Linked DNA regions of Homo sapiens: regions 1 and 2 are each linked to region 3. Evidence: promoter capture Hi-C in 16 types of primary human blood cells and fetal thymus (Javierre and others, 2016). All regions are on one chromosome and are shown on one strand. Each heading gives the region's core, a stretch centred on a gene start or on the middle of the fragment in contact. The rest is flanking DNA. Distances are from core to core; before and after follow the strand shown.

Region 1 (4,127 bases), core at 484-2,983, 3.3 Mb after region 3:
TAACACGATTTTCCATACTAGTGTCTTTGCTTAAAAATAATATTTGAAGAGGAAAGAAAGAGGTAAAATTTTAAGCTACCAACTCTGCCCCTCTTTTTCATTGATCTTCTAATTTAATTTACTAAAATAAAATTGCATGGCTGTTGAGTCAGACAGTCTCTGTAATTTTAAGTTTAAAGATAACAGATCTTCCTTTAAATAGAACATTGGCACACAGATACCCCACAATCTGGCTTATTGCAACTGTTCTCTGTTGGTGAAGTGGCACGTTTGCAATCCCCATAACAGCCATCTTAACCATTTCACAGCATATTATTCAAATGTACATCTCTAGGTGGCAACAAGGATAGGCACTTGGGCTCAGTAGCAAGGGGTCTGTGGGGAAAATCCTAGGACGAGGGATAGGAACCTGCAAATGGCAAGACAAACTAGAGGATACTCAACCAGAGGCTTAGATTGGGCAGCTCCATTGGCTTTCTGACTGCCTACGAGGAAAACCTCACTGGAAACTCTTTTGAGGTTCTTGAGGAATCCTAGAGGCAAACGGACTCCTCTGCCTTTTGGAAAGGATTTGTCCCAAATCTTAACAGCTAGCTGTCTCAAAATCCAACTGGACTAAAATTGCTTCAAGAAAAACTGGATGGACTGGCATTCACATTTTTACTTCTACCTATGCCTATGCATAGGGAACATCCCTCACACTCCAGTAGATTCTATCTGTCCTCTCTAGCTTTCAAGTAGCCACAGTGACTACAGCGAAGGGAGTTAATGGGATAACATGTTGGTACAGGGCCACAAGCAGGATATTTCATTCCATGCATTTGGGGGAAGGACACAGGTAACAGTATACAGGGAGAATACCGAATAAGAAATCTGTGTGAGGCAATGCCCTTTTTGGGACCTTGACAAAATCAGTCATGGAACCCAGGTGGTGGATAAGAGCTGACGAGAGTTGGTCTGTGAATGGGCACAGCATCTCCGAAAAAGATCAATGAAATGATTGACAGAGAAAATGGCAATTGAAGGAAGAAGCGATGTCAAGTGCTGCTCAACCCAAGCTGAACTCCAGGAGATAAGAGAAGTTTCCCCTCCAGATAGAGGCTCTTTCTAAAGGTTCAGTCTTGAAGCAGGTGTTTTGCCATTGAGAGGGGCACAGACCCATTCTGATAACTGGAAAGGGAGAGGACCAAGGACTACAGGAAGAGGGACGATTTCTGATTACCTCAGGCTGCTGCCAGGGACCTACTGCTCCAAATCCTCAAAATACTCAAGCGAAGGTAAAAGGCACAGAAAGCAAAAGAGTAACTCAAATTATTTTAAATTTTGAGTCCTCTTCACTGTCTACGCGAATCTGGCACTGAAATGGTAGATCACGTTCAAAAGAGTATAGAGGCAAGAACGCCTTCTTTGTTTGCCCAGTAACACTGCTCCTCCAACCTCTGCACTTGGCCGCCCAACATTTCCATCCTAGTTGTTGCTCCTTTTCTCATTGCAGAATGCAGCGGGGTTCTCCCCTTCTTCCCTCCGTGCTGCAAACCCCATTATTAACCAAGCGGAAAGCTCCACGCAGTGCGGCCAGGGCGCACCGGTGCCGGGCTGCTTACCTTCCCCGGACCTAGTCAGCGCAGGTCCCCGCGCACGCCGCCACGGGCCGCAGTCCCGCCGCGCCCGCCGAGTGCTCGGTCAGCTCGCGCCGGCCCGCGCCCCACCTGCCAGCAGCAGCCTCCGCTCCCGCCGCGGAGCTCCGGCTGCATGAAGTCATCCCCGCCCCGGGACGGATCACCACATTCCGCGCCAGCCACGGGGGGAGCGGGGCCGCTCCCGACCCCAGGGAAGGCAGCCTGGAAACGGCGCTCGACGATCGCTGCCCCGCGAGGTTGTGGATTGATTTTCTATTAATGCTTTTACAGCTGCAGCATCGCTGGATTATGGATTGAGAGAGAAGAGCCAGGGGGGCTTTCTCTGCATAGCGTCCTTCCTCCGAGCGCTCCCCCGTCACCCCGGCTGCATGGACTGTTCCATTTGCCCCTGTGGGTTTCCCACCCTCTTCATCTTCCTTATCAGCATTGTTCATTTGGCTGAATTTGAGAGCAGGAATTGTCTTTTAAGATAAACATTCAAGCACTACAAAAACATTTTAAATTGGTAATGAAGCTTTCTAAGCCCTTCATAGCTCTCTCCATCACCCCCGCCCCCGCCAACAGACACACACGCAAACACACACACACACGCACACACGCGCGCACACACACGTATGCACACAGCCAAACCACTCACAATTTTGAAAGCTAGAACCTTTCGCCCTCTCACCTACGTAATAGAACGGGAATCTCCTAAAAGACTGGAGAAGTGGGGCCAACCAGAGAAAGCGCTCAAAGAAACAGTGGGGTGGCCCCATGATTTTGTTGTGTTTATGGTGCACTTGTGCACAGATGTTCCCTCTAACATCTCTTCCTCCTACTTCCTTTGCTCTGGACCCCCTCCCCTCCCTGCCACATAATTGGGCAAACTGTTGTGGTGACAGCTGTAACATTTGGGAATCAAAAAGCAGAGTCTACATTAGCAAATGACTATCTCTCTTTCCCTAAGGATTTATGAAAATTTGCTTTGGGAATGAAATAAGCATGTATTCATATAAGCCCTTTCCTTCTCTTTTTAAATTAACACTAGCTGTTAACAAGACTGTTCTCTCTCCCCCACCCTCCCGTTTTGCTTCTTTCCCAAATCTCTTCAGGTTTGAGGGTTGAATGTTTAAGGAAAAATGGGACTAAATTTGCTCTCTTTGTAGCTGAGCCAGGGTTTCCGCCTAGCTGTTGAGTCATTTTCCAGTCGGGAGGTTCCTTGACACTAGGGTTCTGTGGAATGGAGTTCCCTCTTTTAACTTGCCTTGCTGTTTGAATTGACCGTCACTTGATACAGGCCAGCTTTACACTATGGATTTGTCCAGCAACCTAAACAGTGCAATTGCACAAGGCCAGGGAAGCACCTTTGCTAAATGAGATGTTTCCATCCATCTATCAGTCCCAAAGTTAGGTGATAATGTAGCCAACAGCTTTCCAACAAAACTTAGTTAGAATTCTTGGTCATAGAATATATGCTCTTTGAAAGCTAGAACAGCTTAATTCATCGCTCTGAGACTCACTTTCATAACATTAGCCCGTTAATATTACCATAGAGCAGGAGATTCTTAATCTGTATAAATGGAATTCTATTCATATACTCCTTTTATACAGATTAAGTATAATGGGAAAAATCTCATTTTTAGTTTCACTAACTTCTAACTGAAATTTAGCATTTAGCATGTCCTTTAAACATAATGTAGGCAACAAACCACAAGAATGTTAGGAGTACCTGGGACTTTGTTTCCAATAGAAACAACAGCTAATTCCTTATTGCTGTTTTTATAGATATCTCTATCACTACACTGATGTTATAATCAAATCATCACTACTTTTTTTATTTAATAGACTATATTTTTCAGCTTTGGTGTCCAGAAAAATTGAAGAAATAATACAGGGTGTTCCCATATATCCCATTCCCAGTGTCTCCTATTGACATCATACAATAGTAAGGTACCTTGGTGTAATTCTGGCATTGCTATAAAGAACTACCTGAGATTGGGTAATTTATAAAGAAGGGCTGGTGGTTCTGTAGGCTGTACAGGAAGCATGATTGGGGAGGTCTCAGGAAACCTATAATCATGGTGGAAGGCAAAGGGGAAGCAGGCAGGGCCTACATGGCTGGAGCAGGAGAAAGAGAAGGGGGAGGTGCTACACACTTTTAAACAACCAGATGTCATGAGAACTCACTACCACCAGAAAGCCAAGGGGGAAGTCCTCCCCCATGATCAAGTCACCTCCCACTAGGCCCCTCCTCCAAAATTGGGGATTACAATTTGACATGAGATTTGGGTAGGGACACAAATCTGAACCATATCATTGGGTTACAATCAATGAATGTATACTGATACATTATTACTAACTATAAATAAAGTCTAACTACATTTAAGTTTCCCTGGTTTTTACCTAATATCCTTAAATCTGTTCCAGGCATCCATCCAGGATACCACACTAAATTTAGTTGTCATGTCCCCTTAAGCTCCTCTTAGCTGTGATAGTTTTTCTTGT
Region 2 (4,095 bases), core at 642-3,141, 3.4 Mb before region 3:
AGTCTTGCTCTGTCACTCAGGCTGGAGTGCACTGGTGCAATCTTGGCTCACTGCAACCTTCGCCTTCCGGATTCAAGCGATTCTCCTTCCTCAGTCTCCCGAGTAGCTGGGATCACAGGCATGTGCCACCACGCCCAGCTAATTTTTGTATTTGTAGTAGAGACAGGGTTTCACCATGGTGAGGCTGGTCTCTGCCTTCGCCTCCCAAAGTGCTGGGATTATAGGTGTGAGCCACCGCGCCTGCACTTGGCCTCCAATTAAACTTTACTACAAGGACAGGTGCTTGGCCTGATTTGGTCCATGGGCATAGTTTGACAAACAGTGGTTTGAACAAATGGACCTAGGGACTTCAGCAGTAATCCAGTCCTGAACTAAGCAATACTATACCATTTTTTTGTATAGCTTTTATATTTATACATGAAGTGTAATATCACATAACGTTAGCTCTGATCTAGTCTGCCTGGCTGTAAGTCCTGGCATCTCCTGGTTATTGACAGTGTGACATTGGGCAAATTAACTTCTCTTTGCGTCAGTTTTTTAATTTTAATCTTTAAAATGGGGATAATAGTACTTCTTACAAAGGGTTGTAAGGAGTAAATGAGTTAAAGCACATAAGTGTAGTGCTTGTACATATAATAAAAGCTCAATATGTGTTAACTTAATATTTTAAAAATTATTCCTCATATACATTATTAAAGGCAGATCTGAGAGATGTTTTAAGGTAGAATTTACTGGCTTAATGCATCTCTAGCTACGGAGGAAAGACAGTATCCAACACTTCAAGGCAAGGGCCGTTCACATAGAGGTAATATGGAAGTCATAAAAGTAAATTAAGGGAGAGAGGGAGGTAGGAAATGGAGGATTAAGGACTGATTTTGATGGGATGCACAGGAGAGAAAGTGGGGAGAGTAAAAAGGAATAAAAAAGAAGTCAAGAAGGAGGCAGAATCAGTCTCTAAAGTATGATAGGAACCAGAATAGCATAGTAGTATATAGACTAACAGAAGGATGGGTGGTGAGGTACTGCTGAGAATAACAGTTATTGTGTTGATGATATTAGTGAATTCAACCAGCAGATATTAATTGGATGCCTCCTATGGGCCCATTACTGGGGATACAGGGAAGAATTAGATACATACTCTGTACTCAAAGAGCAGAAAATCTACTAGGAGTGAAAGACTTGGAAATAATATATGCACCAACTTTAAAAATAATCAAGAGTAAGATAGAATTTTTTAGATTTAATTGGTACCTTTAAAAACTTAAAATTGACTTACGGTTCATAAATGTGGGCAATTTAATTGAATTTATTTTCTTTTCTAGACAATGGCCAAGAACAAATTAAGAGGGCCGAAGTCCAGGAATGTATTTCACATAGCCAGCCAAAAAAACTTTAAGGCTAAAAACAAAGCAAAACCAGTTACCACTAATCTTAAGAAGGTGAGTATTAGTTAAGCACTCTGACTTTATTGTTTACAAGCAAAGTGTCATTGTAAGCTACTGAACAGCTGTATACTATTACTTTTTAAAAAGGTTCTTCATTTTTCCTAGAAAGGTAAGGATGGTTTCAAGCATTTGTCTAAAAAAATATAAAAAAAAAGGAAGAAAAATAACCTCCCTTTCTTGAAAACAAATGTTGAAAAGAAATAAACATTTTAACTACAAATGTGTGAAGCTTCAATTTAATAGTTTTACTGAACCATAGAACTCATTTAAAAACCATAGTATGGGAAACAGTTCTTATCTCTAAACTCAAATGTAAGAATGTATTAATAGAGGCAAGACATGGGATGTCAGTGAGCACCCATTCTTTTTCTCCTCAGTAATTCTTGTATCTTTGAAGACATCTGCAATTCAAACAAAAACCTGTAAAATGAAGATAAAAAATATTTATTGAAATGCACAATTTGAAAGGGGTTTCTTTTCTTTGTTTATATTTCAAAATACCTGAGAAATTTCTACAAGATTTAAGAAAAATTTTTAAGAAAATGTTTTCAAGTTTCAGTAGTAGATGGAGTCAGCTCTCCAGGACTCAGTTTAATTATAATAGTCCATAGAAATCTAACATTTCATCTTTCAACTTTCATGAGCTAGCGGAGTTAAGCTTTTTGGTTGAATAGTTTTATGATTTTATAAATGCTAAGAATGAAATTAAGCAGATGATGGGGGTTTTGGGGATGACAGTTTATATAGGACGGTCTTCATAGTTGACACATTGAAACCAAGACTAGAATGACAAAGAGCTAGCAATGCAAAGAGCTAGGAAGTGTTGGGAGTGGTGGGTTCGAGGCAGAGAAAAATAGCAAGTGCAGAGGCCCTGAGCTAGGGAAAAGCTTGGTGTATTTGAGGAAGATTATTTTATTTGGACAGGAGGTACTAGAACTTTTATATATGCCACCAGGTAGGATCTAAGAGAGAGATCTATGGGTAGGCTGCATAAGGTGCAAAGGAGGTAAGGGTTTTGAAGGAGAAATTGTTTGGCAGCAGCAACAGTGAAGAAGAAGAGCACCACCCCTACCTCTGTTAAACTCAAGAGGAGGACTGCGAGGGAAGCTGTCATCAGGGGTCTTCCATTAAGACAAGAAGGTCCAGGAAGGATTCAGAGACGTATTGTTATGTTAGAAGGGACTAAAAGTATTTGATCCAGGTTTCTTGTATAGATGCGGGATGACAGCACTGTAGCCTAGAAAGATTTTGGTCACTGTAAGGATACAGGAAAAAAGCAACTCAGTTTCTCTTACTCTCACTCTCATACGGTCACTCAACACTTCCAATACTAGATTTGTGGGGCAGTTCCCCCACACCTAACAATTCTGCAGATGAATCTTCAGCAGGCAGCAGCTGGGTGTCCTTTAATTAAAATCTGACACTGCTGACCTGGAGATAGCGTCAGATTCCACAGGTTGAGAGTTGAGTCCTAAGCCTCTCCCCAACTTCCAGTGACAATCACAAGTCCCAGATGTTTTACCTGTGCTTCTCACCAACCAGTTATAAATAAGTGTTCCCATGACCCCCTCCTTGGGTTTGATTAATTTGCTAGAGCAGCTCACAGAACCCAGGAAAATACTTTTACCAGTTTATTATAAAGGATATTACAAAGGGGACAGATGCGTAGCCAGATGGAAGAGGTGCAGAGGGCAAGGTACATGGGAAGGGGCATGGAGCTTCCCTGCTCTCTCTGGGCATGCCACTTTCTAGGAGCCCCCATGTGTTCAGCTATCCAGAAGCTCTTTGAACCCAGTTCTTTTGTAGATTTCCGGAGGCTTCATTATGTAGGCATAATTCATTAAATCATTGGCCATTAGTGATGGGCTTAACCTTTATCCCCACTCCTCTGGAGCAGAAAGTCCTAATCCTCTAACCCTGTGTTTTTATCTGACTAGCCCTCCTCCTGAAGCTATCTAGAGACTCCCAGCTACCAGCCATCTTATTAGCATTCAAAAGACACTCTTATCCCTCTTAATACAATGATTTAAAAAGCTGTATGACAGGAAATGAGGACAAAGACCAAATATATATATATATCTTATTATGAATCACAATATCACAGTCACATATTTTAGCCTTCTGAACCATAAGTGTGAGGCATAGCCACATAAATCCCATTTTTTAAAAACCAAAACTTTTTGTCTGTAATTTCCCAATAAGACTATAAGAATTTTTGAGTGAATTATCCCTAATTTGTTGGTAAGAGTTTTTAGATTTTAGATTTAACAGGTTAAGGTTGAATATATCTTATCTTTAATGGTTATGAGATCATAGATTAATGCTTTTTTTCTTTTTAAAAGATAAACATTATGAATGAGGAAAAAGTTAACAGAGTAAATAAAGCTTTTGTAAATGTACAAAAGGAACTTGCACATTTCGCAAAAAGCATTTCACTTGAACCTCTGCAGAAAGAACTGGTAAGCAGAAATCATTTGCTTTTTTTTATGGCTAACAAATTGAGGCTAATAAATTAAACTCCCAAGTTTTCAAAGCCTGTAAGTTGAGTGTAATTTTTAGTACTTGGCTCTCTAGTACTAGGCTCTATAGTATAAATAGCATATTCAGACTCTAAAACATTGTCAGAATATACAGATTGTTCTACTTCCAA
Region 3 (3,737 bases), core at 924-3,423:
TTACCAATTGAGGGTAGTTGTCCAGGTTCTTGGTGTTTTGAACGAAGAATTGGACAGAACACACAAACAAGGCATGGAAAGCAGAGATTTATTTTAAATGAAAGTATACTCCACAGAAGGAAAACAGACTCAGTCAAGGGGTTCAAGAGCATCAGCTACAGAATTTTCTGGGGCTTAAATACCCTCTAGAGGGTTCCCATTGGCCTATGCCCAGTCTGATTGGTTGTGGAAGGAGACCAATCAGAGTGAAAAGTAGGCCCTCAACCAGTCTGATTGGTTGAGGGAGGGGCTCTATCAGAGGTTCTTTCATTTTTCAACTGCCACCCAAAGAAAGGAGGGTTGCAACTGCCACGCAGCAACTGCCACGCAGAAAAAAGAGGGGTTGAAAATGGAGTCGCCTCTGATATCAGTCAGCATGAATCAGCCTTAGGTCCCCTGTTTCCAGACCCTATTCTCCTACCTAACATTGTTTCTACAGAATTCTATTTTTATTTCATTCACACTAAAAGGGCAGAATCTCTTAAACCAAAACCATCATCATGTCACAAACCAGACTATTTTCCAACCTTCATTTCAAAATGACCACTATCACCTTTTCTCACTCTTAGTCGGGCAGTAGAATAGGGTCCGGAGGCAGGGAACCTAAGGCCCATTCACGCTGACTTCCTAGAACTAAATCAAAAGGAAAACTCCAACTTTCCAAGCCCAAGTAACAAAAAGACCAGAGGCTATTCCCTTTGCAACCCCCTGCCCAACCTTCTAGGCCCTTGGTATCTGGGCCTAGTCTTCATTTCCATAGGAGTACAACTTTGTAACTTAACTTTAGCCTCTGATTGGTTGCAGGCTACTCCTTAATTTACAGAGGGTGTAAACCAAGTAACCAATGGGAAATCTCTAGCGGATATTTAAACTCCAGAAAATCCTGTAACCAGGGCTCTTGAGCCACTGGCTGGAGGCCATTCCCACTCTGTGGAGTGTACAGTCATTTCAATCTCTGCTTTCCTTGCTTCATTCTTTCCTTGCTTTCTTTGTGCGTTTTGTCCAATTCTTTGTTAAAAAAACCAAGAACCTGGATGACTTGTAGTCAAGACCCTCCATGGGTAACATTGGGACTATACAAAAGCCTTAGAAATCGTGGAATGATTTTTCAACCACATTATCTGATTCTAATGATGAACAGACCTGTAGACCGGTCTGAATCTTGGGATTTGCCTATCAAAAAACTCGGCTTTCCCTACTGCACAGGTCTTCAGAAGCGCATGTCTAACAAGGCTAATATTCCATCATCGGGATCAAATTGCTCACCGGATAGTAAAAAGACACTACAGAATTTCAGGGGTTCTCTGCCAATGAGAACTTCTGAATTATGTAGAACGGATCAGCTACTAAGCAGTGTTCTATCTTCCTACTCTTCTAATCGATTGTCATCCCTTAAAGCGCTGCTAATTCTAGAAAACAATCTATAACCTGTTAGAATCAGCGCAAGCTGGTGATGACTACAAGTCCCATGATGCAAAGTATGAGCACGGACCAATGTTGGTCGCAGTTCCTTCTGGGAATTGTAGTCTTCTCCTGTTTGGCAAACTAGGTATTGTAGCCTCCATTTCTCAGAAGTTCAGTTGGAAAACTAAAGATAGTGCAGAGAATGTCGATTTCCTGCCACAAGATTACATTTATCTTCGCTACCTGAGCGCCCAGCCGATCAACTCCAGTCGCTCCTCCGGTGGGCGGGCGCCCATGCCGTGACATCACTTCCGGCAGAGATGTGTGTGTGACGCTCTCTCTCTCTCTCTCTCGCTCTCGCTCTCTCCCTCGCTCGTTTTCTTTCTCTTTCTCTCTCTCTCTCTCTCTCTCTCTCTCTCTCTCTCTCTCTCTCTCTCTCTCTCTCTGTCTCTCGCTCTTGCCCTCTCTCTCTCTCTTTCTCTCTGTCTCTGTCTCTCTCTCTCTCTCTCTCTCTCTCTCTCTCTCTCTCTCCCTCCCTCCCTCCCTCCCTCCCTCTCTCTCTCTCTCTCTCCCCCCCCCCCCCCCCCCGCCCAGTTCGGCCCCTCCTTCCACACAGCAGGGATCTTGGGCCCGGGCAGAGACTGGCTGAGGCGGGGAGCAGCTGCTTTTGGGGCGGGGGTGTCACGTGAGGCTTCTCGCTGCTGAGGGAGGAGGCGAAAAGCTGCGGTTAAGGAGAGTCCGGTTTAACCGTCACCGGGAAGCGCGCTCGTTCGGGATCGCCGAGGGGGCTGAGGTAAAGACTGGGTCATTACCTCAGGACAGGCGGTCGCTGTCCCGGGTTCTCGTACGGGTGACACCTGCAACCTTGATGTCTGGCGGGCGGCAAGGGGCTCCGCGGGAGAGTGGAGAGGCGCCGCAGGAAGCCCAGCCACCTTCAGGCCACCGCCGACCCCACTGTGCGTCTGGGAGGCGCTGGGCGCGCACCGGTCAGCGGAGGCGGGAGAGTCTGTGATCCCAGGGAGCTGCGGGTCTCGCCGCCTGCAGTGCGGAAGACCCGTGACCGGCGCAGACCCCGGCCTTACCTTCCGAGGGTCGAACTGTGCCTGGTATTTGCCTCTTTCCTCCCGCCCACGGGGTTGCTCAGAGTCGGGCCACCTCACCTGAGGTTTTCCAGAGTGAGAATGAACTGAGCGTCCTGGGAGCAACTCCGCATCAGGGTAGAGGCGAAGACGCTCCTAATGAGCACAGCACGTTTTTTTGTTTGTTTGTTTGCTTGTTTTGTTTTTTTAACGCTTGGGTAGCGCTCACATCTTCGGACGTCAGTGGTTGTGTTGATATGTATTGATATGCGACCTCCCCCCAGCCAGGCGGCCTCAGGTAGTAGAGTGGCAAAGGCCAGGTAGATCCCTCGGACCTTGAGAAGGTTGAGATTTCAGACTTACTTGTTTTTGGGGAGGCCGTCAGGCGGAACCGAGGAGCGGTGAATCAGCAGCTAAAGTTTCATGAATCTTTGATAATGGGGAAATGTTGCCGAGAGCCACTTGAGTTAAAAATCTTTTTTTTTTTTTTTTTTGAGACGGAGTTTTCCTCTTGTAGCCCAGGCTGGAGTGCAATGGCACGATCTCGGCAAACTGCAACCTCCGCCTCCCGGGTTCAAGCGATTCTCCTGCCTCAGCCTCCCAAGTAGCTGGGATTATAGGCCTGCGCCACCATGCCCGGCTAATTTTTGTATTTTTAGTAGAGACGGGGTTTCACCATGTTGGCCAGGCTAGCCTCGAACTCCTGACCTCAGGCGATCCACCCGCTTCATCCTCCCAAAGTGCTGGGATTACAGGCGTGAGCCACAGCGCCCAGCCCAGAGTTAAAAATCTTATTTCAGCATCTTTCCAAGTCCAGGTGACTCATTTCTTACCTTTCCCACCAGTAGAGTTTCGTATGAAAAGTTGGGCAGTTATTGTTGTGTGTAGTCTTGTCATTTTGTTGGTCTGTAGTTGTTACAGTTTCTTATGAGTTTATTATTTAACAAAGTAATAGTAAACCATTTCTTCTTTGTGTTATGATACTATTCTGACACAAGATATACTGGTCCGTTTGATAACAGATTCTTGAGTGTAAGTTATAAAGATTTAAATACCCTCAGTTTATCGTAGAGCAGAATTAGTGATGACCTGTAAGCTGTGAAGAACGGTTACAATTTTCACTATTTAATTTTGTTGCATATAAGTTCAGTGTTCACTGGGTTTTATTTGAGTAACTTGACCAAGTGTGTATTTTTAATCCTGGGTTCTATAGAA

Evidence for each region. The method cuts DNA at HindIII sites, captures the fragments that hold promoters and counts their contacts. A CHiCAGO score of 5 or more calls a contact.
Region 1: the fragment with the promoter of PKIA here is called in contact with the fragment with the promoter of SNX16 in region 3 in 2 of 17 cell types (total CD4 T cells and fetal thymus); the score reaches 8.1 in total CD4 T cells.
Region 2: a contact is called between a fragment that was not itself captured here and the fragment with the promoter of SNX16 in region 3, in 1 of 17 cell types (activated CD4 T cells). The highest score is 5.2, in activated CD4 T cells.

Annotation. Positions count from the first base shown.
Region 1 is chr8:78,513,946-78,518,072 of GRCh38, reverse strand. It overlaps PKIA (cAMP-dependent protein kinase inhibitor alpha), which reads right to left and starts at 1,733. Exons shown (of 4, transcript NM_006823.4): 1 at 1,605-1,733. The region is part of intron 2 of LOC105375911 (a long non-coding RNA gene); the gene reads left to right. RefSeq lists an enhancer at 1,059-1,168 and a silencer at 1,489-1,788. The HindIII fragment of the contact is 11,771 bases long and covers 1-2,156 here.
Region 2 is chr8:85,214,730-85,218,824 of GRCh38, reverse strand. It overlaps RBIS (ribosomal biogenesis factor), which reads left to right. Exons shown (of 4, transcript NM_001099673.3): 2 at 1,323-1,439; 3 at 3,788-3,904. The coding sequence starts at 1,326. Among named protein-coding and RNA genes, the nearest start is that of RBIS, 3.6 kb to the left of the region's middle. The HindIII fragment of the contact is 429 bases long and covers 1,677-2,105 here.
Region 3 is chr8:81,840,621-81,844,357 of GRCh38, reverse strand. SNX16 (sorting nexin 16) reads left to right here and starts at 2,173. Exons shown (of 8, transcript NM_152836.3): 1 at 2,173-2,236. It overlaps LINC02235 (long intergenic non-protein coding RNA 2235), which reads right to left and starts at 1,739. Exons shown (of 8, transcript NR_170320.1): 1 at 1,687-1,739. RefSeq lists enhancers at 1,489-1,758, 2,190-2,239, 2,167-3,099 and a silencer at 2,570-2,619. The HindIII fragment of the contact is 7,243 bases long and covers 1-3,737 here.